Linked DNA regions of Homo sapiens: regions 1, 2, 3, 4, 5 and 6 are each linked to region 7. The links are contacts of gene promoters, found by promoter capture Hi-C in blood cells and fetal thymus (Javierre and others, 2016). All regions are on one chromosome and are shown on one strand. The core of a region is centred on a gene start or on the middle of the fragment in contact, and the rest is flanking DNA. Distances in the headings are between cores, read along the strand shown. Region 1 holds the start of SNRPF (small nuclear ribonucleoprotein polypeptide F). Region 2 holds the start of NUDT4 (nudix hydrolase 4). Region 3 overlaps MRPL42 (mitochondrial ribosomal protein L42). Region 4 overlaps LTA4H (leukotriene A4 hydrolase). Region 5 holds the start of CCDC38 (coiled-coil domain containing 38). Region 6 overlaps FGD6 (FYVE, RhoGEF and PH domain containing 6). Region 7 holds the start of CEP290 (centrosomal protein 290).

The links. The method cuts DNA at HindIII sites, captures the fragments that hold promoters and counts their contacts. A CHiCAGO score of 5 or more calls a contact.
Region 1: the fragment with the promoter of SNRPF here is called in contact with the fragment with the promoter of CEP290 in region 7 in 6 of 17 cell types (non-activated CD4 T cells, total CD4 T cells, naive CD4 T cells and 3 more); the score reaches 15.8 in non-activated CD4 T cells.
Region 2: the fragment with the promoter of NUDT4 here is called in contact with the fragment with the promoter of CEP290 in region 7 in 2 of 17 cell types (non-activated CD4 T cells and naive CD8 T cells); the score reaches 6.7 in non-activated CD4 T cells.
Region 3: a contact is called between a fragment that was not itself captured here and the fragment with the promoter of CEP290 in region 7, in 1 of 17 cell types (non-activated CD4 T cells). The highest score is 5.2, in non-activated CD4 T cells.
Region 4: a contact is called between a fragment that was not itself captured here and the fragment with the promoter of CEP290 in region 7, in 1 of 17 cell types (total CD4 T cells). The highest score is 5.2, in total CD4 T cells.
Region 5: a contact is called between the fragment with the promoter of CCDC38 here and the fragment with the promoter of CEP290 in region 7, in 4 of 17 cell types (non-activated CD4 T cells, naive CD8 T cells, fetal thymus and 1 more). The highest score is 10.3, in non-activated CD4 T cells.
Region 6: a contact is called between a fragment that was not itself captured here and the fragment with the promoter of CEP290 in region 7, in 1 of 17 cell types (non-activated CD4 T cells). The highest score is 5.0, in non-activated CD4 T cells.

The regions. Positions count from the first base shown.
Region 1 is chr12:95,857,650-95,861,501 of GRCh38, forward strand. It overlaps SNRPF (small nuclear ribonucleoprotein polypeptide F), which reads left to right and starts at 1,303. Exons shown (of 4, transcript NM_003095.5): 1 at 1,303-1,427; 2 at 3,519-3,644. The coding sequence starts at 1,425. It overlaps SNRPF-DT (SNRPF divergent transcript), which reads right to left and starts at 1,190. Exons shown (of 3, transcript NR_135014.1): 1 at 1,105-1,190. RefSeq lists enhancers at 1,012-1,627, 1,026-1,085, 1,136-1,195, 1,316-1,545, 1,576-1,625. The HindIII fragment of the contact is 4,587 bases long and covers 1-2,045 here.
Region 2 is chr12:93,376,205-93,380,167 of GRCh38, forward strand. NUDT4 (nudix hydrolase 4) reads left to right here and starts at 1,721. Exons shown (of 5, transcript NM_019094.6): 1 at 1,721-2,217. The coding sequence starts at 2,119. LOC643339 (a long non-coding RNA gene) reads right to left here and starts at 1,532. Exons shown (of 5, transcript NR_040096.1): 1 at 1,233-1,532. RefSeq lists an enhancer at 1,317-2,256 and silencers at 1,493-1,832, 2,053-2,352. The HindIII fragment of the contact is 6,665 bases long and covers 1-3,963 here.
Region 3 is chr12:93,472,127-93,475,910 of GRCh38, forward strand. All of the region lies in intron 2 of MRPL42 (mitochondrial ribosomal protein L42), which reads left to right. Among named protein-coding and RNA genes, the nearest start is that of MRPL42, 6.5 kb to the left of the region's middle. The HindIII fragment of the contact is 4,058 bases long and covers 1-3,554 here.
Region 4 is chr12:96,029,797-96,033,951 of GRCh38, forward strand. The region is part of intron 1 of LTA4H (leukotriene A4 hydrolase); the gene reads right to left. Among named protein-coding and RNA genes, the nearest start is that of LTA4H, 3.7 kb to the right of the region's middle. RefSeq lists an enhancer at 3,086-3,255. The HindIII fragment of the contact is 363 bases long and covers 2,077-2,439 here.
Region 5 is chr12:95,940,419-95,944,375 of GRCh38, forward strand. It overlaps CCDC38 (coiled-coil domain containing 38), which reads right to left and starts at 2,196. Exons shown (of 16, transcript NM_182496.3): 1 at 2,013-2,196. AMDHD1 (amidohydrolase domain containing 1) reads left to right here and starts at 2,913. Exons shown (of 9, transcript NM_152435.3): 1 at 2,913-3,117. The coding sequence starts at 2,981. The HindIII fragment of the contact is 1,867 bases long and covers 809-2,675 here.
Region 6 is chr12:95,213,449-95,217,322 of GRCh38, forward strand. FGD6 (FYVE, RhoGEF and PH domain containing 6) reads right to left here. Exons shown (of 21, transcript NM_018351.4): 1 at 3,777-3,874. The coding sequence starts at 3,792. Among named protein-coding and RNA genes, the nearest start is that of FGD6, 2.1 kb to the right of the region's middle. RefSeq lists enhancers at 522-601, 3,683-3,874. The HindIII fragment of the contact is 1,076 bases long and covers 1,796-2,871 here.
Region 7 is chr12:88,140,838-88,144,878 of GRCh38, forward strand. CEP290 (centrosomal protein 290) reads right to left here and starts at 1,251. Exons shown (of 54, transcript NM_025114.4): 1 at 1,063-1,251; 2 at 369-497; 3 at 119-196. The coding sequence starts at 470. It overlaps TMTC3 (transmembrane O-mannosyltransferase targeting cadherins 3), which reads left to right and starts at 1,470. Exons shown (of 14, transcript NM_181783.4): 1 at 1,470-1,650. RefSeq lists enhancers at 1,091-1,530, 1,337-1,840. The HindIII fragment of the contact is 8,380 bases long and covers 1-1,713 here.

The DNA of each region.
Region 1 (3,852 bases), core at 53-2,552, 7.7 Mb after region 7:
GGGGCTGTCACCCCGAATCAGACAGTAAGGTAAGATTTCCACGATTGTTGAAAAAGCCTGACACATAGTAGGAACTCAAAGTCTATACAAAGACTTAAAGTTCATAAAACAATAGACAAACGGAGAAATCCACTGAAGTTTAGGGTGAATAAATCTAATAACTGTTTGGTAAAAACTACACTGACAATCATTGTCTGGTCAGTGTTCAACATTTACGTGAAACACTGAGCTTTTACAAGGCCAAGCCCCGTTTTACGTTAAATTCTCGCAACCACCCTGAGGATGGTTCCGTTTTTAAAGCCGCGTTCCTGCCGAGGAAACAATGGCCCTCGGGGTTAAGACACTGCCCAACACCGGCCGCGCCTGATAGACGCAGGTTCCGAATGCAGGCCCCCTCCAAAGTCTTGCCCACTGCTCCACAATGCCTCAACACCCAACATTTCATCCTCAACTCCAAATCCATCTCTTCAGGGCCGCAAAAAAGCGTTACTTCCCAAAGGGCGTGTTCTCCAAGAACTGCATTTAGCATTTCAGATCAGAGTGACCCGAACTCAATAGGATTACGACAAAAACTAGTGAGATTCAGATAACACCGTTACATCGAAAGTTTTAATCCGTGACAGAGGAAATATTGCTTACGCCCTTAGGTAATTTCAAATGCACGTATGAAGGCCGTGCGGGTTTCTGCAGGCGAAGCAAAAGAAAGGTGGGGCCGGCAGGGTCGTGGGGCGGGGGTGGGGCATGACACCGTATCCCAGACGCAACTCGACCTCGTTTGCAAGAAATTCTGTATCCAACTCTCTTCAGTGCGTTTCGCCGCCCCTAGTCTAGTCTGGCTAGCCCCCAATTCCTTTAAAAGGGGTTAAAACGGGTGTTGCAGAAGAGAGAACACTCAGGTAGAAAGGGCCTGCGGCAGAGGCGCCCCCAAATCATGGAACCTGTTGGAAGAGTGAGGAAGGAACTCTGGGACCCCGAACATTCTCACGGGTGTAAAAAGACAAAGTAAATCCCCATTAGCCAAGTTGGGGAGAAGTCACATCCGTTACACAGCCTCTCCCAGACCGCCCTCTAGGAAGGACACCACATTTAAAAACACCGGCCTGCCTCCAGTCCTTGGCTGCCTCACAGCGATGCTCAGAGCCGGTTTCCCAAGGTCCGCGCGCCGCCTGCAAGGCGCAAACCCAAGCCGCTGCTGGTTGCTAGGAGATACTGGGCCAGCCATCTCCTCCAATCAGCACGCACCTCTTTGCGTCCAATCACAGAGGCAGGAAGGGCCGTGGTGGGAGGTGAAAGGTCATAGTCCTGTTTGGCGGCCATTTCTCTTGAAACTGCGGCTCGGGACCTGCGGTACCTGCTGTAGTCACGAGGGACGGGCGGCGGCCTGGTCGGCAGAGAGTAGCCTGCAACATTCGGCCGTGGTTACGATGGTAAGGAGAAAGAGAACGGCGGGAGAAGCGGGGAGAAAGAGAAGGAGGGAGACCAGCCTCGCGGGGCCTGCTGGTTCCTTCGCGCGTTTCCCATTCATCCGCGTGAGGCGCCGCGCACCCTGTCGCCAGCTCCTTTCACTCTGCTTTTAGGTTTCTGAGGCGCGTGCTCCTCCCGATGCCTTTCTTTTCCTAGGAGTGCCCGTGCCTTCTTCTCTTTGTTTGAATCCGGGCCTGGGGTATTCTTAGTTGGGGCTATAGGGTCGGGGTAAAAGTCAAAGAGAATTTGCACTTCCCACTTAACCACACTCCAGAATTCACTTTCATTCCGTGAAAGTAATGATACGGCCATGCTCTAGATTAACTCACTTGGGTGGGGAAGACAGACATTAGTCAAAAAATAACAAGTATGTAATTGCAAATAATAAGTGCTAAGAACAATGCAGACAGGAGGCTGTGAGGGTGCGCGTTAGACATTAGAGGCTTAGTCAGAGATGGCCTCCCTAGGAGGTGGAATTTAACTCGAAGCCTAAGTGTCATGAAATACGACCCTTTAAAGAGCAGGAGGAGGAGTGTACCGAGCACAGGGAATAGGAGCATAAGACCTGCGGCCGGAAAGAAAGCTTGGTCATTTGGAGAAATTGACAGAAAGGTATAGCCACTTGCGCGAATAGTGGTTAAGAGATGGTATCGGAGGAGCAGGCGTTGGGCAGGACCTCTTAGGCTGTATTGGGAGGTTTTGATTGTACTCCAAATCAATTTAAAATGATTCGGTTGGAAGCCATTGGATCATTTTAAGCAGAAATATGACAATCTGATGTGCACTTTAAAAAATCATAGTTACTGTGGTGGATAACAAATTGGAGAATGAAAACTGGAGACCCATTAGGTTATTGGAGTAATCGCCATATCAAGATCACTCCGAATATGCTCATGTTAGAGGGGGTTAGTAGCCAAGTTTCTTAGTTCTCTTCTTTGTTTGACTGGTGAGTGAGCAGAAGAGGGCAAAAACCGAAATCACTGGAGATGTTAATGGTTTGCTGAATAAATAGACATTAAGTAATTGCTGTAAGTAAGAGGCGGTGCTACTGACAAAGTCAGATAGGACCTAGCCCTAGCTTCCCCAGTTAAATACTGTCAAGCGTGATCTGCCCTCTGCTTCCTTCTGTAGTTTTATATTTGGGGCTTTGACTGACAATGCTGAATTGTATGTCCCCAAAACCACCTTGTTGCATCACTCTTCCCTCCTTTTACATAAGTAGCTAGCCTTGCCTGGAACAGCATTTTTTCCCGCTCTGGAAATAAACTCTTATCCTTTAAAACTGAGGTATTACTTATTTCAGGCAACCTTTCCTTTTTCCCCTGGATTGCTTTGGTACCCTTGTGCCTAGTATATCTCCTTTTACTACAGTGCAGCATGCAATATAATTATTTGTATGTGAGGAGTTCCCCTCCCCATCTCCAACTTCTTGACAGGGACTCATTTATTTATTTATTTATAAGAGACAAGGTCTTGCTCTGTTGCCCAGGCTGGAGTGCAGTGGCCTAATCATAGCTCACTGCAGCCTCGAGCTCCTGGGTTCAAGCAGTCCTCCCACCTCATCCTCCCTAGTAGCTGGGACTACAGGTGTGCACCACCACACCTGACTATTTTTGGTAGAGATGGGGGTCTCACTATGTTGCCTGGGCTGGTCTTGAACTCGTGACCTCAAGTGATCCCCCGGCCTTGGCCTTCCAGATTACTGGAATTACAGATACGAGCCACCCTACCTGGCCCGCTTTTTTTTTTTTTTTTTTTTAGTGCCTTTATCTTTGTTTCTTTAGAGCTCAGAACAGTGAGTGATGTAGGTAGTCAGTGTATCTTAAGTGAATAGTCAGTGTTTTGTTTTGATGGGTTAAAGGTGAAATTGGCTAACTGGATATTTAAATTTCCCTGGTACTCTCAACAAATAAAAGTGAAAATTATGTACTAAAATAATAAGGAGTCAAAAGTTTTCTTCATTTGCATACCACAAAATATTGGTGATTCGGTAGAAGAGAGTTGGTGGTGGGAGGAAAAATAATTAATTAGATCCTTTTTTGTTCTTTGTGCAGAGTTTACCCCTCAATCCCAAACCTTTCCTCAATGGACTAACAGGAAAGCCAGTGATGGTGAAACTTAAGTGGGGAATGGAGTACAAGGGCTATCTGGTATCTGTAGATGGCTACATGAACATGCAGGTAAGCTAAAGAGCTGTAAAGGTCATAACATTGCATTTATTTTGCTTCACCTTATTTCTCAAAGGTTTAGTCTGACTAATAAGAATACATACAATTAAATTGACAAATATACGGCAAAATTCAAAAATAAAGTCAAAGCCAGGAGGGATACTGTGATATACTAGGTACAAGACATGGACTTAAACCAGAATTCAGCTACAGATTTTAT
Region 2 (3,963 bases), core at 471-2,970, 5.2 Mb after region 7:
ATAATCACATATTAGCCATAGCGGACTCCCCAGCTAGATGTTTTCTGCCTGTGTTTGTAAATCCTGGACATAGTTAAATTTCAAGTGCCTTCAATAAGAAATCAATGGCTTGGAAAACATCTCTGCGCAGTCTTGATAAGATTTCTAATTGTGGTGAAGCCTCATTCCTTAAATTATTTATTCAACACTAACCCATTCTACAAACTTACATCTGCTGGGCTCTGGGAGTAACAAGATGAGTTAGATGCAGCAGTCCCAAATCTAAAGGAGGTTGGAGACTAGAAAGACCAGTGCCTGCTCTGAGCTCTCCAGTGGTCCCCAGCCTCTCAGTCAGGCCTCACAGGCCCCTCTGCCAGAGGCGGAACCAGCTTGCCTCCGCTCTGCAGCCACACTGGCCTTTTCTTTCATTTCTGAGAACTCTCCTCACTCCCTCCCACTTTGGGCTCTGCAGAAATCCCAGTTCCCTTTGCCTTGAAAGCTCTTGGTCAATTTAGCTCCTCCTCCTTCAGCCCTCAGCTCCTGCCTTGCTGCCCCAATAATCTTTTTCTGACTGCAGATCTGGTCAAATCTTTGTCTGAAACCTTAGAGCCCATTACATTTGTAGTTTTACGTGTACACGTGTGATCATTTAATATTTGACGGTGTGCTCTCAGGTGCCTACGCTCCTGGAGAGGCAGGGGCTGACTGGTTTTGTTAGATGCCAGTGCCTGACACACAATAGGCCCTCAAGGGGTGAAAAACCAACCAACCAAGTCAGGACCCAAGCAACCTGGGCCTCTGTGGAAGGGCAGAATGGCCTGAGTTTGGGTTTCTCGAGCTACCTTAAGATCAGGCCTCCTGGCTCCTATCTTAGCCCTTCTAACACTCTGAAGTGTAGAGGTTGTTTGTTCCAAGTCCCCAAGGTACTGTAAGCTCCCAGATAGCAGAAATCCCATTATATTTTAGTGCTGTGGCCCCAGCATCCAGCTGCGCTGTTACTTAGCATGAGATCCACATGAAAACCATTTCGCAACTATTAGCCATTGCCAGTATTAATACTTTCCGGAAGGTGGCACAAAGTGGGGGATGTTATAGACAGCTTCAAAGAAACGTTTAAGCTAGAGTTGACTCTTTAAATAATACAAGCCATCCCCAACCAAAGATTAAAAATTTAAATACAAAAAAAAAAAAAGGAAATTTGCCTACCCCCCATTTGTGAAAACAAAGAAAAAAAAAACAGTTAACGTCTTAACTTTTCTAGGCCTTCACTCTCGCCTCTCCCCGCGCTACAAGGGCGAATTCTGGACGTATCTACACAGTCACCGCGGAGTCTGCAATCGCCGCGACGTCCCCTGGCATTTCTTGGCCAGGCTGCAACTTTGGTGACGGTGTATGTAGTTACATCCCCTGTAGTGCAGCTGGTATTTAGGGTCCTCATTGGCAAAGTTGAGGGTATAAGCAGGGAGGGAGGGGACCTTGGCTTCTTTCCATTCACTGGCATGTTTTCGGGGCACGGTCATCCCACGCTGGGCTCCAGCGCCAGTCCCAAGGCCTCGCCGAACTCCAGCCCGGGAGTGCGCGCGGCCCCGCCCACCGGGCGGCCGAGGTCCCGCCCCTACCTCCCCCGCCACACCTACCCACCCACCCCATTGCAATGGTCTCTGCACGCAGGCGCAGTGGCGCGCGGGGGAGGCGGGGCGCATGTGGGCTTCATTTAAACAGAGCAGAGGGGGCGGCGCGCGGTCGCCGCGGTGCTGCTGCTCAGTGGGAGCGGGTCTTCGCAACTGTCTCCGCGTGGCGCGCGCCTCTAGCCGCCCTTCCCCTGGCGGCTACGGCCGGAGGGAGCGGAGGCGAGCGGGAGTCGGGCTCCATGGAGAGCGGCGGACAACTGGGCAGAGGCGGAGCTTTCATCTCGGCACCCTGGTTCCAGTGACCCGCGCTAGCGTCCCGTCCCGCCCGCGTCGGAGCGGCCGCCGGCCCCGGGACTGACCGGCCTCGCCGCACCTCCCGCACCGACTAGCGCTCCCGGGCGCTCCTGCGCCCGACTCGCCCTCGCCCCCACTCCCCGGCGGGGTGGCGGCGGCCGGGCCCCCACGGCGGCGGCCGGAGCAGCAGCAGCAGCAGCAGGAGCCCGCCTCTATGATGAAGTTCAAGCCCAACCAGACGCGGACCTACGACCGCGAGGGCTTCAAGAAGCGGGCGGCGTGCCTGTGCTTCCGGAGCGAGCAGGAGGACGAGGTAGGGCGCCCGGCGCCGCACGCTGCCCTCCGGGGCGCCGGGGTCTAGGGCCCGGGTGCTTCCCCTCGCTCCCCGCCCCTGCGCAGGCTGCGGGGCTGGGAGGGATTAGCCCCCTTCCTCCCTCCCTCCTTTCCTCCCTCACTCCTTTCCTCCCTCACTTCTTCCTTCCTTTCTCTGGGCTGATAGATGAGACAAAGGGGGCTCGCCCAGCCCCAGTTTCTCCATCTGGGCACTCGAGAAGGCGCCTGGTCCCCGGGAAGGTCCCGGGCCGCGTAAGTCTCGCCTAGCGGGAGTCACCATCTTAACGTGCGAATTGAGTTGAAAGCCGGATAAACCTCGAGTGCTCAGCGAGAGGAGGGTGGAAATGGCGTGAGTGTTGCAGCAGAGCCCTTGTGCCTCTTTTACATATTTTCCTTCCATGTTACAGCCGTTTGCGGTCTCGGATTCGATCTAAGCATGTTTGTGGAGTAACAGACAGTCCTCGTGCTTGGAATTGAGTCTAGTCTTGGCAATTCTTGTGGGTCCATGAACCCGCAAGCTGTTGGCATAATTATGCCTCATTTTTAAAACGGCCTTCCCTTCTTAAAGTTTTCTGACTGCAGAAAAATGGTTAGTGAAAAATGTGGAATAATGCCAAAAGGGAGACGATGGACTAGAGATGGGCAAAGCTGCCATTTTCAGACAGTAATCTCCAGCTCTCAGCTTATGTATAAAGGGTTCTTTGCTGTCTGGCTTGACATCTGGAAAGGAGTAGCCTTTCTCGTTCTCAGAGCAGTCGTTCTTGGATAATTTACCCATCTGCATTGGGCTGAGAATGAGACCCTTGGGGTTTCCCTGGAGAGCGATTTTTACTTAATTCAGTAGTATTTATTTAAAATGGCTAACTGTTGAAGTTTGCTTAGGGCAATAGTAGCCTTTTGGTATTGCCACTCTTAAGATAAATTACATAGGTGAAAAAAATTAACATTCTGAGTTCTGCTTTCATAACCAACCGTGTATAAAATACTAGGCTAAGGCTGGAGATGGGAATTTAATGGCTTCCTTACTGCTAGTCCCTGTAGTTGTGATGAATATGACACAGAATACACTCAGTGGCTTAGTTCTTGTTATGTTAACGAAAAGTTCTCGAAATTTGCCCTTCAAACCCTTGTTTTGCCTTTATTTTTTTTTGAAAAGAAACCAAGCCCTTTAAATGGGTTGCTCTGTGCTCACTCATAACCTTTACGTATTAGACTTGAATCCCAAACGAGTGTGCAGAGAAATACGGCCCCAGCCTTTGAGATGGGTCTGCTTAGGAGAGCTAGAAACTGCAAAGGGAAAGGTTATTAACTTTTACAAAATGAACAAGTCAACAAGCATTAAGTGTGTTCTGTAAAAAAGATAAAGCCTTAGCGGAAAGGGGCCATGTTGAGGCAAAGTAGTAAACTTTAAATATAAAAGAAATGATAGCCAAAAGGGATCAAGATAGATCAAGGATCTTGTCTGGTTTCCTCAATATTGTGTAATGATATTCTTAATTGAGTGCTTACAATGTGCCAGGCGCTGCCAGAAGAAAACTTGTTATACATTTAATCCTTTTAACACTGGGAGGTAGTGAAGTTACTCCCATTTTATAGGTGAGGAGACAGTTGCAGAGCATAAGTACCTTCCCAAATGACACAATTAGGAAGTGGTAGAGTCAGGATTCAGGGTCCAGTCCTTACTCCTGATGTTGGGCTCTGTTTGTTGAGTGAGTGAGATTTTTGT
Region 3 (3,784 bases), core at 276-2,775, 5.3 Mb after region 7:
TTGTTCAAGTAATCTGAATGGTTTAGAGTTAACTCTCAAAATATCTAGTTAACTAAGAATTAGGTTACCCTAGAAAATCATTCCATTATCAGTTATCCTAATACTCAGTGACCTAACTTCTTATATCCGAAAAGTCCCTTATACTGCAAAGTTCCTGTTGCTACTATTATTGAAAGTAAAGGGCTGGGCAGGGTGGCTCACACCTGTAATACCAGCACTTTGGCAGGCTGAAGCAGGCTCTGAAGTTTGAGACCAGGCTGGGCAACATAGGAAACCTCATTTCTACAAAAGTTACAAAAATTAGCTGGGCGAGGTGGTACACGCCTGTGGTCCCAGGAGGGAGCCAGCTTACTCAGGAGGCTGAGGTAGGAAGATTGCTTGAGCCCAGGAGTTCGAGGCTGTGATTGTGCCATTGTACTCCAGCCTGGGAGACAGAGTGAGACCCTGTCTCAAAAATAAAAAATTAAAATTAAAGAAAGTTTCATTACTGTTATTATTGATGTTTAATAAAAAAGGGAAGGACAGTAAGATTGGAGGCAAAGCGAAATCATGATTAAGGAAGAAAGTTCAGTGAGCAAAAATAAAAAGCCTTCCTTATATTCTAGAAGGAATATTTTAAAATTTCCCAAATGGTCAGTCAGCCCGGGAGTGTAGAACACTTCACAGTTTTCAAAGCATGTTAAGCCATTTGATCCTTATAACAGCTTTGATTTTGGTAGCCCATGTAGTATTATCCTCTTTATGAAGGTAAAGAAACTTGAGTTCTGTGGCCCTCATAAGTTCACCCAGGGTCACATATTTGGTAAACAAAAACTGTGACCAAAATCTGGATCTCCCACCTTACTTTGTCCTGTATACTTTCTACTGTACTTCCTTTTCTGTAGCAAGGTAAAATACTGAGCATTTGAAGATGGGACAACTTTTAGCTTTCATAGCTCTTTCAAAATGCAATTAAATATATATATGTAACAAGAATAACTCATAAATTACAGAAATTATTGTTAATTGAAATTCTTTTGGCACATTGAGCTTAATTGCTGTTAACTTTGGCATTGGTCCTAATTATATATTTAGAGCTTCTGCTACTTCTATATCCAGAATTACTTCCATTGGTAAAATATCAGGTAATGAATGTTTCCTTATTTTTTTTTCAAGGTGAAGTCTCACTCTGTTGCCCAGGCTGGAGTGCAGTGGTGCAGTCTTGGCCCACTGCAGCTTCGACCTCCCTGGGCTCAGGTGATCCTGCTATCTCAGTCTCCCAAGTAAGCAAGACTACAGATGTGTACTACCATGTCTGGTTATTTATTTATTTATTTATTTTTGAGATGGAGTTTCACTCTTGTTGCCCAGGCTGGAGTGCAATGGCATGATCTTGGCCCACTGCAACCTCCGCCTCCCAGATTCAAGTGATTTTCCTGCCTCAGCCTCCCAAGTAGCTGGGATTATAGGCATGTACCACCATGCCCGGCTAATTTTGTATTTTTAGTAGAGATGGGGTTCCACCATGTTGATCAGGCTGGTCTCGATCTCCTGACCTCAGGTGATCTACCCACCTCAGCCTCCCAAAGTGCTGGGATTACAGACGTGAGCCACTACGCTTGGCCTATGTTTTGTATTTCTTTGTAGAGATGGAGTTTTGCCATGTTGCCCAGGCTGGTCTTGAACTCCTGGGTTCAAGTGATCCACCTGCCTCAGCCTCCCAAAGTTCTGGTATTACAGGCGTGAGCCACCATGCCCAGTCCTTATGAATTTTTCAAACATCAGTTATGCAGAAACATTTGAGAGGCAGTTCGGCAATCACTTTTTAATGTGTAGGCACTATAGGGGACACAGTAATGAACAAGGTACAGTTCCTGGCCTTAAGGAACTTATTTAGACTTGTAGGTGAAACAGACATCTAGCAACACTAAGAATGCCCAGAATATGAGGCAGAATGTGATAAGTGTGTCATGAGGGCACAAACAAATGTCTGTGTAAACACAGAGTAGAAATTTTACTGAGTTTCTTGTTAACTAAAATACTGTTGTCTTGAGTTTTCTTGTCTGCATATTTCAGAACACTTAATTCTGTCACCCAGTCATGTTTCTTTCAGTGAAAATGTATATCATCTAGTTGGTTTATATTCAGAGATACAAAATTGTTTTTTTTTAATTTATATTTTTTATTATTAATTTTTTTTTAATAGAGATGGGGTCTCACTATATGACCCAACTATGTTGCCCAGGCTGGTCTTGAACTGCTGGATCAAGCGATCCTGCTGCCTTGGCCTCGCAAAGCGCTGAGATTACAGGAGTGAGCCACCACACCCCACCAGTTTTAATTTTTTTAGAAACGATTTTGCTCTGTTGCCCAGGCTAGAATTCAGTGGCACAATCATAGTTCATTGCAGCCTCACCCTCCTAGGTTCAAGTGATCCTTCAGCTTCAGCCACCTGAGTAGCTGGGATTATAGGTGCATGCCACCATGCCCAGTTAATTTTTAAAAATAGTTTTTAAAGATAATATCTCACTGTGTTGCCCAGGCTGGTCTCAAACTCCTGGCCTTGAGCAGTGTTGGCCTCCCAAAGTGTTGAGATTACAGGCGTGAGCTACCATGCCTAGCTTTATAAACTTCTTTTAATATTAACCCAATCCATGCATAATTAGGAAGGTCCCAGTGATGTCAAACAAGAAAATAAAATATGGCCAGGTGCAGTGGCTCACACTGGTAATCCCAGCACTTTGGGAGGCCAAGGCGGGCTGGGCTGATCACCCAAGGTCAGGAGTTCAGGACCAGCCTGGCCAATATAGTGAAACCCTGTCTCTACCAAAAATACAAAAATTAGCCGGACATGGTGGGCGCCTGTAATCTCAGCTACTCGAGGGACTGAGGTAGGAGAATTGCTTGAACATGGGAGGCGGAGGTTGCAATGAGCTGAGATAGACAACTCTTTCTTCTGTGAAGAACCTTGGGGGCAGGGAGAGTAAAAAGGATTTCATGGAAGAAGAGTGTTTGACCTTTTTTTTTTTGAGATGAAGTCTCACTCTCGCCCAGGCTGGAGTGCAATGGCACGATCTTGTCTCACGGCAACTTCTGCCTCCCGGGTTCAAGTGATTCTCCTGTCTTAGCCTCCCGAGTAGCTGGGATTACAGGCATGCACCACCACACCCGGCTAATTTTTTGTATTTTTAATAGAGAGGGGGTTTCACCATGTTGGCCAGGCTGGTCTTGAACTCCTGACCTCAAGTGATCCACCTGCCCTGGCCTCCCAAAGTGCTGGGATTACAGGCATGAGCCACTGCGCCTGGCGAATATTTGACTTTTAAGGATGAGGGGTATTTGAACAAAATGGGGCTGGAATTCCATACTGAGGACATGGTAAAGGCATGGAGATAGGGAAGGCAGGATAGGTTACAGTTCTATATCACAGGAACAAGAGGCTCTGTTGAGACTTTGATTCTTGGCATTGACCAAGGTGCATTCAAAACTTGCTTTTAACTATATTGAGCTACTTTTAAATTTTTTTCTTTATATTAAAAGAATACCCTTTTTTGAACATAGGAGAATCTTTCACAAGCTTTTAAAAAAGCAGTTTATAGCTGAGCACGGTGGCTCACACCTGTAATCCCAGCACTTTGGGAGGCCGAGGCAGGTGGATCACGAGGTCAGGAGATCGAGACCATCCTGGCTAACACGGCGAACCCCGTCTCTACTAAAAATACAAAAAAATTAGCCAGGCGTGGTGGGGGCCTGTAGTCCCAGCTACTTGGGAGGCTGAGGCAGGAGAATGGCGTGAACCTGGGAG
Region 4 (4,155 bases), core at 1,008-3,507, 7.9 Mb after region 7:
CTGAGCCCTACAAATCATACTCTTTAATTATCTCTCAACTAATCTCTTGTCCTAGAATCTTGAACCTTCCTATGCCACAAGACTGTTTCCTAACAACATAAACAAAATTCTACTTGATGGATCTACCCACTAAATATTCTAGTTTTCCTCCTTCCTTCCTTAAACTCCAAGGGAGTTTTTGACTGCTATGACTACTACTTCTACTTCTTCATTAATCATCCTCCCTTTCCCCTTCTTCCATCTGGCTTCTTGCTATTGAAAGGGCAGCCCCCACCCCGATCAACAAAGTCTTTTCTGTCCAATAACCTTGACCTCTGTCTACTCACAGCCCTTATGGACTATGTCATCTGGTTAAAACCCCTTCCTTCACTTCTTTGCCTGTACGCATACATCATAAATGGTTCTCTATTTGTCTAATGTTTTTTTCCTTTCCCCTCCTTTATTCCAATTCAAAAATATGGATATGTCCCAATGTTCCAGCCCCGGTCCTTTGATTTTCTTGCCATATCCTTCACTCCCTAGCTCTTACTCATGCCCACATCTTCAATTAGTATCTCTGTGAAGATGCCTGCCATTCTAGTTCTACAGTTGTATTCCCTCCCCAGGACCTCAGTCGAATCGCCTGCTCAACATTTCCATGGGACATAGCACCACACATTGAATAGGCTTCTAAAAATTCCAAAAATGATTTTTATACTCCCTGAATCAGATTTCTCCCCAGATTTCTTGATTCTGTTAAAAGAACTCTTCCAGTTACCTAAGGTTTGATCCCATTTCCCAACCCCACACAGCCACTTAAAAGTTGTTCTTTCACAATGTCTTCATACTTTTCCTTTCTTTCCACTACTAACCCAGGTCAGGCCCTGGACTGGCAGAACTGCTTTCTACCAGATCTCCCTACCTCTGGCATTATTTTTTTCCTTTTCTGAAATCTGACCTGGCTACATGTGAGGCCAAGAACCAGCCATTTCCCAGCTGCCCCTGGGTACTTTCTTTTGGGGGTACCTCATTTGTTATCCTTACTCTAAATTAGTAGAAGATACGGTTTATATCTTATTTAAAATAATAGGGTTACTCCTTCATATTCTAGTACCTCTCTAGTCTCTTCATAGTCTAGTACCTAGTTCTGAATAGCTATTCAGAATAGCTAACTTGTTTTAAAAACTTGATTTGAGTATCTTGTGTTTATAACACATGCTTATATAGATGAATTAACTGGGTCATTTCCCAGTGGAACATATTCTGTTTTCTATATTGGCTAAACTTTCCAAATCTGTTCAGAATCAGAAGTGTCATAGTGACAACTATTTTTTGTGAAACGTTTTGATATCCCCTGTGTCTGTTATAGCTCTTGGCCCTACCCTTTCCTATAATACTTACTGTACTGCATTATAATGATTTCTTTTTCCATTAGACTAAGGGTTCTAAAACAGAGAATGTTACTTAGGTCTGTATTCCCAGGGTTTAGCACTCTGCCTCAAAAACACTAGGTGTCAATTAATGCATGAAGCAGGTCCTAGACCAAGAGAAAACAAAAAATGCAATGTTTAAGCTGTATTATCTCAAGTCCTAAGTCTCAACTATCATTTGCAAACTACTTTTTAAAATTCCCCTTCAAATTTCAGCGATGTTATTTTTAAAAAATAGTCAAAAACTGTAATAAGAAAGAAAAATAAAGAAAACTGGATTGTTGACAAGTTGGATTTAGTACTTTTTAAGAAACGTGTTAAGCATCAACAGCTCTACTAATTATAGGATATAATTTATATGTTTCACAGTATCCTCTTTGAACAATACCCTCCATCCCCCTAAAAAGCAGTTGTACTTCTCAGTAGCTGGTCAGTTGACATGGAATAGGTATCTGATTCCTTTTTTGCACAGGCTGGTAGGAAGCTCCATGTCAACCCTGTGGCCCACTTCTTTTAAAGTATAGAGGGCTTTATGCCATGGGTTTTGTTTCTCCTATCCCTATTCTCTCTTCCTGCAAATTATTTAATTATTTTTAATCTTATACTATATATGTTGCTTCAAGCAGTCTCAGTCCTTTCTAGAACAAAGCAGAGTTTTTTTAAAAAAAGCTTTATGCCTCATTATGATGTCTAAATTTACATTTTCTACTTGCTATGTGCAGGGATATGATGAAAAAAAATAGGTTTATGTGTGAAACACAAAGCTAAAACTAAAAAACCACCTTGATTTGATTCCCAGTTGAGACATTTACTTAGTGAAAACAAGATGGTTTGCAGTCAGAATTACCTATTGTTAACTGCTGGCTTCTGCCTTGGCCATGGCACTAAAACCTCTTGAGCCACTAACCAAAAGAACACCTAAACATTTCTGAAGGTTTCAGTGAAAAGAAACAAATGTATGAAAGTTATCATAAATTTGGAGGATCAAACTTCAGTGTAAATAACCCAAAACTTGAAAAGAATTTTAGAAAGCTTAGAATTTGTCCGATTAAGTCTCCTTCAGCATTCCTCAACATCACAAACTCTAAGAACGGAGAGGAAAAGAAGACATGACGTCTCTCCTGATTCCGCACTGGCACTGGGTCTTCCCATCTCACCTCTGAAATACAGCTGGCACTATTATCAATGTAGCCCATGTTAAGCTTAGGCACTGTTTTCTAATTGAAATCATCCATTAATCAAACTTTTGAATGTCCTCTACATGCCAGACATAGACTATACTAGGAAGCTGAGATACAAAGAGTTATGAAACACAGTCTCTACATTCAAGAGTCCACAATCTAGTGGAGGAAAGAAACAAGTTAACTTTAAATAAATACTAATTAACTAATTAATAAGGATAAGCTCCTGGTCTAAGGCTTTTGTCATAAATAAGCAAACAATTATAAACATGTTATTTTGTACCATAAATTGCCTTCCTTGTATAACATGTAACATTATTATAATTCCAGGCTCTAATTTGCTAAACAGACATGCCAACCAGAAATCACTATTTTAAAATCTTACTTTTCTCTAGATTTGGGGAATGTAAAAACAATGAGCAGATTTTTAGATTGGGACATTCTTTTCAAAATTTAAACATCCTGACTCTTGCTTACTTATAGAACAGAGATAAAGTTTTTATTCTACAAAAGTGATGAGAACACATGGATACACAGTGGGGAACACACACTGGGGCTTACTGGAGGGTGGAGGGTAGGAGAAGGGAAAGGATCAGGAAAAGTAACTAATGGGTACTAGGCTTAATACCTGGGTGACAAAATAATCTGTACAACAAACCCTCATGACACAAGTTTACCTATGTAACAAACCTGCACATTTGAAGTACACCTGAACTTCAAATAATAAATTTTTTAAGTTTTTATTTTACAAAACAAAGGTAAGTGTGAGGTCACATTAAGCAGCAAAAAGCTATAAAAATTTTCATTCTTTTACTTTTATCAGCATAGTTTATAATTTAATTTTTTTAAATAAAGGTGAAGAACAAGAACTTTCCAGTTAACTAAGAGCTTTGAGTGGGTTTGGGGCTTAGTCAAGGTTTTATTATATCTTAAACCAATTGGAATATTTCTTCTGAAATATATGTTGCAGCTAAAGATTCAAGGAAGAATTTGCTGTTCATATATTAGAAAAACCTCTTTAAATTTCTTCCACTAGCGACCTCGGTTTTGGTTTGCAATTATTCACATCTGAACACAAGTGTCCTGAATTGCTTAATTTTTAAATCTCTAGTACTTTTGAATGTAGGACGTATAAACTCATGTTCAAATATGGCAGTCTCACAGTGTGGTTTTTCTTTTTTTATTATTATACTTTAAGTTCTGGGGTACATGTGCAGAACGTGCAGGTTTGTTACATAAGTATACACATGCCATGGTGGTTTGCTGCACCCATCAACCCGTCAGCTACATTAGGTATTTCTCCTAATGCTATCCCTCCCCTAGGCCCCTACCCCCAACAGGCCCTGGTGTGTGATGTTCCCCTCCCTGTGTCCATGTGTTCTCATTGTTCAACTCTCACTTATGAGTGAGAACATGCGGTGTTTAGTTTTGAAACTGCATTGAAATAGGACTTCAGCCCTGCCCAGGCAAAGTTGCTACTGCAATTAAAGATAGCATGGTACTTCAAGAAGACCAAAGTGCGATCTGCAAGGAAATAGATGCCTTCCTGCTTATAATATCTTAAT
Region 5 (3,957 bases), core at 946-3,445, 7.8 Mb after region 7:
TATTCGAATCAGTTTATTTGTTTTTTTGCAACAACCCCCTCTAAAACCCAATGAAAACGAATTTCCAGATGATCTCAATGTGAGATAAAAAGCAATGTTTATCTTCACATGCATATGAGGATTTAGACTGGTTCTCTCAGACCCAATGCCCTTCCATTTTTTTTTCCCACCTCCTCTCCGCCTACCTTGGACAAATACTAGGAAAAGGGGCTGTGAACTGTGTCCTTGGATGGTGTGGGGAGATCACAGTTAGCAATTTTTTGTTTACCTAAAAGCCAGGAGCCACTGGGTCCTTGGCCTGCTTAGATGCACGCTGCCGCTTCTGACTAGGTCAGAGCACAGCACAATGATGAGGAAATTACTTTCACCTTGACCTTTAAGGCACTGCTGGCGTCAGGCTATTTAGTATGGACGCTTCTGTTGACATTTCTGACTGCCCCTTTTGCGAAGTGAAAAAAAACAAACAAACAAACAAAAAAAAAAACTGGAGGTCAAGAGGAAGGAAGGATGGGTTAAGGAGTCAGCATATACAAGTCAGATAATGTGAAAAGTATTTTATAAGAGCTGCTATCGGGATGTTGGTTATTACCAAGGAAAAATGTGTCATCCTTATCCATCTATAACTACTGAACAGTAACTAAGGAAAGAAATTCACTCATCCTTTCTGCTTTTGCAAACCTCCTGTTTGCAGGAGCTTATCAGGTAATGTTGTCTGTCTGGACTGTGAATCAGATGCACAGTTCACCCACAAACATAAATACCTATGAAAAAGAAATATAATTTCTTTTAGACTCACCCAGAACTTGCAAGCTTTAAGTACATGGTCTGTGAAGTCAGGAGAGGAACTATACTATTGGCTGAAATCTAATCTTTAACTTAATTGGCCAGGAAGACAAATAGCAGGATTAAAACACACGAATAATAGTAATAATACCTATTACTTGTTTAGAGCTGGGCACTGGGCTAAGTGATTTATGTTTTATTTTATTTAAAACTCAGACAAGCCCATAAAGTAGAAACAGCTCTCCCTATGATGAGGATGAGAAAACGAGGCTTCGAGAAATTACTGTAAAGAAATTCCCCAAGGTCAAACAGCTTATAGGAAACAGAACTCAGACTAAGACAAGTTTATTGAACCCTATTTTTCTATAATTTTAACCCATCCTTTATACATACAATTGCATAGTTCTGCAAATATGCCTAAAATTGCAAAATGTAACTGATTAAAGTCTTCAGCAGAAATTTTATAATAGAAAATTTTAATATTTCTCTGTGAATTAGTGACTTTATGTGTTTCTATTCCCCACTATTTCTACTTCTCTTTTTAAAGACATAGAAATATATGTATGTATAAACTTTTTAAAAGCTATGCACACACACACACAAACAACCTGTTTGTGATTGTGTATATGAGCTGTGAATAATCTTCTGATGCCCCCTCCCCCCCACCCTTAGGGTCTCTTTCACTCACATTGTCTATATATTTTCCAATTTTTATCTTTCTCTTTCCTAACTGATCTCTCTTTTATAGGCCATAATATGAAGCTAAATTATATTCTTATTTATCGTGGTCATCTAAAGGAGTGTTTGCTTTCTGTTCCAGGTTTTTTTAATGAGACTAAATTAACTTTTATATTTTGTGGGTTTGCAGGCTTAGTCTGCTTTTATAGTATATTATTTGTGTCCACATCTATCACTTTTATTGTAAAGTCTTTACTGGGCAGGGAAAGCGCCTTTCCTATCTTTGTATGTTCCACAAGACTTAACACAGAGCTTGTGATAAACATGAATAAACGAAATCAAGTAATTAAGGACTCAAAAGCCTGGGCCTGGCAGTGTTTCCATAGCAATTGGTAGCAGGAAGCGACGAGGCTGAGAATCACAGACCATCTTCCATAAACTTGATTCTGTCTCCAATTTTGGTCGCAAGTTGCTTGTAGGCCCACCAGACACAGCTGAGGGGTGGGAGGGGGCATGCGGAGGGGCGGACACTGAGCTGAAACCTATTTTACCTCAGCGAGTTTGGATCCAGGAGCCTTTCCAACCTATCGTTCGGGAAGGCGTTGTGGGAAAAGTGGGCGGAGGTGCCAATCGATCCTCCAGTCTCGGCTCTATCCTCCCCCAGCCCGGTTCCCGGTCATCTCAGGGACCGTCTGGTAGCTGATCCCGGAACGCAGCTGGCCAACGGATAAGTGCGGGGCACCCGCCACCCGCGCGGACCCAGGAGCACCTCCCCTACCGCATCCCCCTCCTCCCCACCCCCAGGTTCCCTCGGCTCGCGGCCCTCCGCGTCCCGGGCTCCCGCCCCAGAACCTGTGGGCAGATGTTTCCTCCACGCAGTACCCTCCCGGGGCTCTGCCTCCAGGCTCGCGTCCCAGCACCCTAGGCAGAGGTTTCCCCCACTCTGTCCTCTCCCGGGGCTCTACCTCCAAGCTCCCGTCCCTGCCCCTGGGCACAGCTTTCCCCTACTCTGCCCTCTCCAGGAGCGCTATCTCCAGGCTCCCACCCCAACCCCCCGGGCAGAGGTTTCCCCCATGGCCCCCCTTCCGGGGCTCTACCCCAGGTTCCGGTCCCTCACTCCCGAACACTCCGGGTGCCCTCACCCAGCCAACCCTTGACGCGCTTCCACATACCACGTGATCCACACAGCTCACTTTGATCTCTCGGGGTGACCAAGCTTAAGTTTCCTTATCTGAAAAGTAGGGACACTAGTCTCCATCTCGTTTACTCGGGATGGGACAAGACGACCAAAAAAGAGAGGATTCCTCATCAGGTTTATTACTCGTTGCCATTCTTGCAATGATTACCGCCCCCGTTGCTGTGGTTGGGGGAGGCGAGCAAAGGGCAGCGGCTGCGAGCGCCCGCCCCCGCCCCACCCTCCCAGCCCCGGACAGCGCAGGCTGCGGCTTTTCGTCCTCCACTGAGTCCTGCCGGTGGCCCGAGCCCGGTGGCCTCCCGGCGACCCTCGGCGCGAGGCGACATGGCAAGCGGCCACAGCCTCCTGCTGGAGAACGCGCAGCAAGTGGTGCTGGTGTGCGCCCGCGGCGAGCGCTTCCTGGCGCGGGATGCGCTGCGCAGCCTGGCGGTGCTGGAAGGCGCCAGCCTGGTGGTGGGCAAGTAAGTGGCCGGGCGCGCAGGGTGGGGACCGCCACGGGCGGAGCTGGCCGCTCTTCCTCTCACTGTGCACTCTGGAGGGAAACAACGCCGTGAAAGCGTCCCTGCACAGAGATACACGGGCAAGCCAGCCTTTGGGGTACCTGTTGCTAACACGCTCTGCTGCTTGGGGTTGTCATTCCGTCCAAAGAGCTCAGAGAGGAACACCCCATTGGAACGCATCAGGGTCCTGCCTCTGCTGGTAAAATATCACTGTCCAACCATCAGAAGGGGTTGAGGTCCTCCCCAGTGCTTCTTAAAGGGAGGCCAGAAGACCACCTTTGTCAGGGTGGCCTGTGGTTATTTTATTCTTACGGCAGATTTCTGATTCCACCTGCGTCCCCCACTCCCTATCCCTAGAATTTTAGAATCAGCATCACTGGGGCTGGAGTTCTGAGACCTGAATTTTTCAAAAGTACCTTTCACATCCTCGTGATCTCGTACACTAAAGCTTTAGAACCACGGAGAACATTTAGACGATAATGGCCCTGAGTGATAATAAATCAAGATTTGACCATCAGAAAACAAGATATTTCTCTTACTCATCTGAGCTTCCTGCCAGATATGAATAAAAGAACAAAGTTTGAGGGCGACCTGGGGTAGCAAGGGAAGTTGGATGAGAATTTGAATCCAAAGCGTGCCATGGGACCACAATTGCACACGATCAATGAGTCTCACAAACTGACCACGGCTTATCTGAGGCAGTTTAGGGTTGTGCAAGAGCCCAGCTTTTAAGGGACTGTGGGTTGGTTTAATTTTATTTATTTATTTATTTATTTATTTATTTATTTATTTATTTATTTT
Region 6 (3,874 bases), core at 1,084-3,583, 7.1 Mb after region 7:
GTTCTTGAGATTGGATGTACCATGTGAATGTACTTAACACTTCTGAACTATACACTTAAAAATGAGTAAGACGGTAAATTTATCTTATGTGCTATTTTACCACAGTTGGAAGAAAACTTCATCTCTCATCAAATTAATCTTTTACTTTCCGTATCTTAGAACCTTGTCAGAAGCTTTAGGGTCATTTAAATATCATTTTTAAAAAATCCCTGGTACCAATTTTACTCTTTTTAAAAAATGCGTTTTGTACACAAATCTGCTTCCAAGAGATATAAATTCCTGTTCTAGTGTCACAGAAATTCAATTAACTACGTATGTGCTGGAGTTGATTCCCAATAAATATAGCAAAGTCCTATTACGTACATAAAACCCTCAACGCATACTCACTGAATTCAATTAATAACTGTGAACTTGGGCTTGCCATTGTTAGTTAACTGTGTATTGAAGGAAGTCACAGACATAACTCAGGGAGCTGGCTAACCTAATTGTGGGCCTTGTACAGACCTGGCTGCCTCACTTTCCTTCCTTATAAATGGGGGAGTTGAACAGGCCTCTAAAGCCCATAGGAATCTGAGATGATAACTTCTGAGACACTCATTTCAGAAGAACCTCATGTACTGTGGCCTCTGTCTCCTGCGTTGATGTTTTTTCAGTTCACCTTTGTCTGTGTTCAGCATAAGACACAAGCTCCAGAAGGGCAGGCACTTTGTCTCATTCACTGATGTATCCCAGTGCTAACAACAGGGCCTGGGAATAATCACAGCTGCCACATACACATACTCTTTAATATGTCTCCATAACAGAAAATTTCTTCTTTAAAAATAATCACATTCAAAAATGTACATCCATTTTAATGTAGAATAATATTTTGAAAAGTTAGCAGGAATCAATTTCAATACGATTATTGAAAAATTCCTTAATTATTAATAGGAACAAGTGTTCAACTAAGTCACTGGTAGAGCAATATCCAAAATCCTTCATTATTTTTTTTTCATGGCTCTATTTTGGAAGAAACACAACTCAAAAAATAATAAGCCATTATATTATGGTCTACTCCAATGTGAAATAAGTGCATGACATTTGGCAATAAATCTAGCACCTTTGGATCTTAATACTGCATCAACAGTCAGACCCAAAGCTTCTTAGAGCAAAGCAGCAAATCTTTTATTTACACAGCTGTTTGGCTCCAGGGAAATATAAGGTAAGAAAGTAAAGCACTAGTACCATTTTACTAACTATTACAAACATACTCGTCATCTGTTACACACAGATGGCTGTGGTTCACGTGTACACTCTCTGGCTACTGGACCAGCCAAAACGCAAAGCACAGACAATGAAGACAGTGACCTGTACATGTTCAAAAGGACACAAAATATATACCTATATATACCTATAATTCTCTCTCCTTTTTTCTTTTTTTTTTTTTTTTTTTGAGATGGAGTCTTGCTCTGTCACCCAGGCTAGAGTGCAGTGGCTCGATCTCGGCTCACCACAACCTCCGCCTCGCTGGCTCAAGCAATTTTCATATCAGCCTCCCGAATAGCTGGGACTACAGGCGCACCCCACCACACCTGGCTAATTTTTGTATTTTTAGTAGAGACAGGGTTTTGCCATGTTGGCCAGGCTGGTCTCAAACTCCTGACCTCAAGTGATCCACCCGCCTTGGCCTCCCAAAGTGATGGAATTACAGGCTTGAGCCACTGCGCCCAGCCTCTCCTTTTTCATATACAGCTTAAAATAATTCTGAAATCTCCACTAAGGGCAGATTATTTTATAGATGTAGAAAAACAAAGCAAGCTTTTCTGCTGGATACATATAACCTAGATGTTCTACAACATTCCTTTTATTTTCTTAAATTAAACCAACCCTTCCAAATACCACAGATTAGATTCAAAAGCAAAAATCCCCTCCCTTAACTTCAAGTAACTTTCCTAAACGTTTCAATGAATTTGACTATTGTTCCCAAAAAGCACCATAATCAGCTTGTAAGAACTATGTATACATATAAGAATGGGTAGAAATAAAACCCCAGTTCTCTTCCATATTCCCCATCTAGACACCAGAAAGAATTATGATAAATCCAACAGATGGGTGAGCAAAAAAGTAGTTGATGCTTCTCAGCCAGCAATGCTAAAAACCAACCAACTCGGCTAGACACAGGAAGTGTCCCACTTTAAACACCACAAAAATTTCTGTGGATTTCTTTAATTGTAAAGTTGATAAAATACAAAAATAGCTTGCATTATTTTAGGATAATTCAAATGCAAGAATCATGAACTTCCAGTCTGGGCCCTAGAAATTGGGTTTACATAAATGTGAAATTACATGCTTCTGTGCCTGTTCCTTATAAACTGTTAAGACTGGAATTGAAAACTGATACATATAAGACACGGTTATTTTAAATACATTTGACACCTCCAAAAAGGAAAGAGCTAAAACTGGCTGGAAGGATTTTAAAATTTCCAACCACTTTTAATTTAAATCAATTTCTTGAACGAAGGTAAGGCACAGAAATGTAGGATGAAAATAATTTACCTTATGTAAGTATAAAGCCTCCCTTTGGCAAAGAAAAGAGAGTTTATAAAGATATCTCATATAAGTGCATATAACATCAAAAAGGAAAGACCCACACAACACCCACTTCTTGCTTTCTTTTCCTATTGGCTAACTTCTTGTTTCGTTTGTTGTAATCTGATCACAGGGAGCAATGCAACACTACAATATATCTAGGCTTTAGAAATAATACAAATCAGAACATTTGAGTGCTGTTGGACAGTTTCAAGTTGCAAGAATTTTAAACAAATGCCAAGAAAAGCAATGAAAATTTAATCTGATACTTAAGTGCTGATTCTGGAAGTAACCTTGAGAAGAAGCTTTAAACTATTTCACTATAAAATTTCTAATGAAAGTTTCAACGTGGACAAAAACGTAAAATAACCCATAACACTCTACTTAATACATAAGTTCTGGTTTAAAAATTAACCTATGTACTTACGAAGTGAACGTAACACCACTTTGGTAATTATTTTGTAAAACAGAAATTGTTCCTTAAGAATGTTCAGAAACACAACGTCTAGAATTGCTGAAAATCCACACAAAGATAGAGGCTTTGTCATTTGGATGAAGGGGAAAGAACTATGGGAGGCAGACAGAAAATAAAGCTTTGTTTACCCTAATCAGGTAGAAACAAACAAAATAATTGTAATTGGGTGCAGACAAGCAAAAAAAAAAAAAAAAAAAAAACCTCAACAATCTCAACTCCTCTGCTTCTCAGGTAACAGAGGTAAAACCACCAGGACATGACAATGTCTACGCCTCTTTAAAATGGGTAAAAGGTTTACCAGCAGATACAAGGTTGAAAGCGACTCACTTAGTGGCCAAATTGAACACGCTGAGAACACTGCCTTTACCTATAATAACTGATCTATTAACTTGGGAATCTACACTATTTTCACATGCAAAGGCGAAGTCCTCGCACTGCTGGAGAGATGAGCGAACGCCCTTCACACATCGCATTTCACCTGGTGCAGAGCCCCCAGCACAGTCCCCCTTGGAAGGGAGATCCCGAGAAATCCCGGGTTTCCAAACAGCCCCTCTGGGCAGGAAAAGACGAGAAAGCCGGCAGCGAATCCCATTAGCTCCGCGCTTGCCGAGGTGCTCGGCAAAGGTACGGGGCACACAACTCGCCCACCCCGGCGAAGAAAGTTGCTCGCGAGCCCAAGCCTAGCAGCGCTCGCCACAAACTTTCCCGCGGCAGCGCGAGCGCCGTCACTTACCGGCTGCAGAAGTCATGATTCCCCGGTGCAGCTCGCTTCCCCGCTCGGCCCCTCAATCCATCTTCCCCTTTCAGTCCATTGTTCCCACAGTTCGGGTA
Region 7 (4,041 bases), core at 1-2,500:
TTTTTAGTGGTGATGTAGATATTACCAGGTATTTTCACAAAGATTACCTTATATAAGAACAGATTTTTATAGTTCCACTAATAGCCAAACCTATAGTTAAAACCTACTACATACAAACCTTCATTAGTGACTGAGTAATTCTGAAAAGGTGTATCACATTTTCTTGCTTTTCACTTTTTAGCTCATTTACTTCCACCTAAGTAAACAGAAAAGCAACTGTTTTATATTTTATAACCTTCAAGCAAAATATAAGAACACTTCCAGATTGTGACAATTATAGTTGTCCCTGAAAAAAATAAATTCATATTTTATTAATAAATTAATCATAAGTTAATGTATATATCTATTATTATTGACCAATTAAGCACCTTGGATAAGGAAATCAATAAATTATCTGCCAGTTCTTCTTGACGGGGCAGGTCATCTGGGTCAACTTTCATTATTTCTTTCCAGTTTATATTAGGTGGCATCTTGAATTCTTTCACTGTGCTCCACCTCTGTAACAAAACAGGTGTATATTAGCATTTTCAAGGTACACAGTATTATTGGTTTTCTAGCACCTTACATTTTTTGCAGATTATTTCATTATAACTTTCTGATGTTAGCAAAACAGACAATTGGGCCACAAAATAGACAAGTGGGCAAAATAGCCTTGATCAAAAATAGCAGTCGGCACAAACTGTCAGAGTGTCCCGGCTAAATAAAATGTGACGGCTTCCTTGCTAACACTAATCTAAGTTAATACTTAAGATTTCTGGATCCCTTCCTCCACACCCCTACCCACAATGCGCGCGAACACCCTAATCCTGGCAAGCGCGAGGGTCTGTGGAAGGCCGACAATCATCCCTGATTTGGAGAAACAGAATTGGGGCTGAAAAAAAACGCAGAAATTAACATTTGGAATGAGTGAAGTTGTGCGGCGGAAACTGGAACCGAAGCAAGGCAGTATTAGGGACCCGAGGCTGGAAGGGCGGGGTAGCTATGCTGTGGCACACGGGCCCTCAGGCTAAAGAACCTGAGCGTGGAGTGACTCGCTAATCCTGCTTACAAGGATCCACCCACCTAGACCAAGCCTGGCAACCAGCGGAGGCCTCTCACTACCGCAACCACCAAGCTGGACCCGGCCGCGGGCCCTGACAGATCCCTATCGCGGTTCCACGCGGACTCTGGGTCCAGCCAAATGGTCCCGAGCAAGCCAAAGCGGCAGCGGCTGCTAGGCGACACCATCCCCAACTCCGCCAAGGCCAGAATAAGATCCCGGATGCCAGGAGAGCCTACAGTTCACGACCGTGGGTGATGCTTTACGTTTAGATTCTCCGCCGGAGTCCCAGAGCTCGGTGTTCAGGATGATGAGAAGGCGTGGAACGAGGACTTCAAATCCCAGAGTGCAGTTCTGCCTGAGGCTTCTGCATGCTGGGAACTGAAGTCCCTGAGAAGAGGAGGTAAGGCGCTCCCGGCATGCAACGCGTAAGACTGCGACGGTACCGGGGCGGCGGGGAAGGACCGAGAGGCGGGAGGAGCAGCGGCTCAGGCGCCTGCAAACTGGTGGCCTGAACGAGGTAGACCATGACTGTGGTTTCAGTGGCGTCACTCGCTGGGCTGCTCTTCCTGAGGTTTTCCTAAGCCATCCCCTGGCGGAACCGCCCCCAGGTGAGGTCGAGCTGTCGGTCAGCATATTGGGAGGAATTGAGGGGAGCAGTCCTGGGTTAGAGAAGCTTCTGCTATTGGGGCCGTAGGGCCTGGTCCCATTCTGAAAAAGTGGGAACACCCTGCCTTCTCTTCAGGCGTTTGCAAGCGGCGTCCAGGGTAGTGCCTTCTGTAAGAAGGAAAAAACAAAAAGTTTTAGCCTTGTTTAGTATCAGAATCTGTCTTGATAGTTAGAGTGAGAGCCGCGCAGCCGTGATCCTCGTTTGGGGGCGAGCGAAGAATTGACAAGAGGTCTCGGCATCCCGACCCCGCCCGCCTTACCTGTAGCACCATTCCTTTCGCGGATCGTGGGGCTTGATGGTTGTGGAGCTAGTATAAAGTCAAGGCTCTAGAGAGGAGAGGTTAGTACTTGTCCGGACCACTGCCGGGGGTGGAGAGAGAAGGGATCCAAGGACTCACCTGTACTATTGTTGCCACTTGCTTGGTTACCTAGGGTGCCCTTCCATGAAAGCGCCTTCTCTGGTGTTTACCACTCTTACTCGTGCAAGTTTTGCTCATCCTGCTCGTCTGCTCACAATCATGCTGGAGTATGATACATCTCTACCTAACTTTCCTAAGAAGCTGTAGACTTAAATCTAAATGACATTTCCAACTATCTGGACCAGTGCTTTGTCTTTTTTTTTTTTTAAACGCTGCTTTAAAAAAAAAATTACTGTACTTGACAGTAAATTTTCCTTTCGAAAATAAGTAATGAGTTTCTTTTTAAACCCCCAATTTGGGTAAAATAAGTAGCTCAGTACAAAATAAAAAGATACTGATTTTGTGAGATGAATTTTAAAGACATTAGTTAGATTTATAGGAATGACAATTTTACTACTTTTCTGAAAGATTATATGCCAAATACTATTCATTATCTTGTTTATTCTTCCTTACAATCCAGTGAAATAGGTGCTTACATTGTCCTCATTTTCCATCTGAGTTAAGAAACTGAGGCTTGGAGAAGCTAAGTAACTTAAATAGTGTGATTGAACACAGATCTCTCTGGCTGGAGGACATATTCTTAACTTCTATACACCTCCTCAGACATTCTGGGAAACCAATATTTGTGAAGTGCTTGTTCCTCAATCTTGCTATTTTTATTAAATGTTATATTTTAATTTTGTAAGTGTTTACTCAATAATTTGAATTAAACATTCTTCATGTTCAGTGTTCTTAATTCATAATTTAACATGGGATGGTGTTTCTGGAAAGGTGTTCTGATCTGGACCCCAGGAGAGGGCTCCTGGATCTCGCCAAGAAAGAATTGGAGGTGCATACACCCCCATTGGAGGTGGTAGACTAAGGATTGTTATAGTTATTTCTTGATTATATGCTAAACAAGGGGTGGGTTATTCATGAGTTTTCTGGGAAGAGGGTAGGCCATTCCTAGATCTGAGTGTTCCTCCCCTTTTTAGACTATATAGAGTAACTTCTTCACATTGCCATGGCATCTGTAAACTGTCATAGCACTGGTGGGAGTGTCTTTTAGGATGCTAATGCATTATAATTAGTGTATAATGAGCAGTGAGAACGAGCAGACGTCCCACCTTTCTCGCCATCTTGGATTTGGTGGGATTTGGCTGGCTTCTTTACTGCATGCTGTTTTATCAGCAAAGTCTTTATGATCAGTATCTTGTGCCCACCTCCTATCTCATCCTGTGACTTAGAATGACTGACAGACATCCTGAGAATGCAGCCCAGTAGGTCTCACCCTTATTTTACCCAGCCCCTATTCAAGATGGAGTTGTTGTGATTCAAATACCTCTGACAATGGTAGGAATGAAATTTAATAGTTACTGAGCACATGTTATGTCATACACTATGCTGACTACTGCGTGTTTGTTTTCATAATAGAAGTCTGTTTTCTCTAACACCTTTTCTTCTGTTTTTTTTTTCATTCGTTATAACTTATTTTTATGTATTCACTTACAAGTTTCGTTTGTCTGTATTACTCTTTTCTACCCTTCTGCCACCACCCTCTTGCTCACATTCATAAACTCAAGGTGCCTGGTCTCTAATGGTAAATTTTATTCTAATTTTTCAGAAGTGAGAACAAGTTCATAGAAGTTAAGTAATAATTGATGAAGCTAAGATTGTAACCTAGATCTCAGTGACAATTGTAACTAAAAGCAAAATCTTACCTAAATTTTATTCTTTAACTCATTCTAACAGTATTTTTTATCCTGTTTCCTGTGCTAGGCACTGGGGATACAGCAGTGAACAAGTCAGCTCTGGCTTGAACAAGTCAACTAAGTTTTTATGCATTGTCGTCTGTACCTAAGTGTGAGTCAGGAAATTTAACTCAGGTTCTAGTTCAATAACTCACTGTATATTTTTGAGGAAAATTGGCAAAAC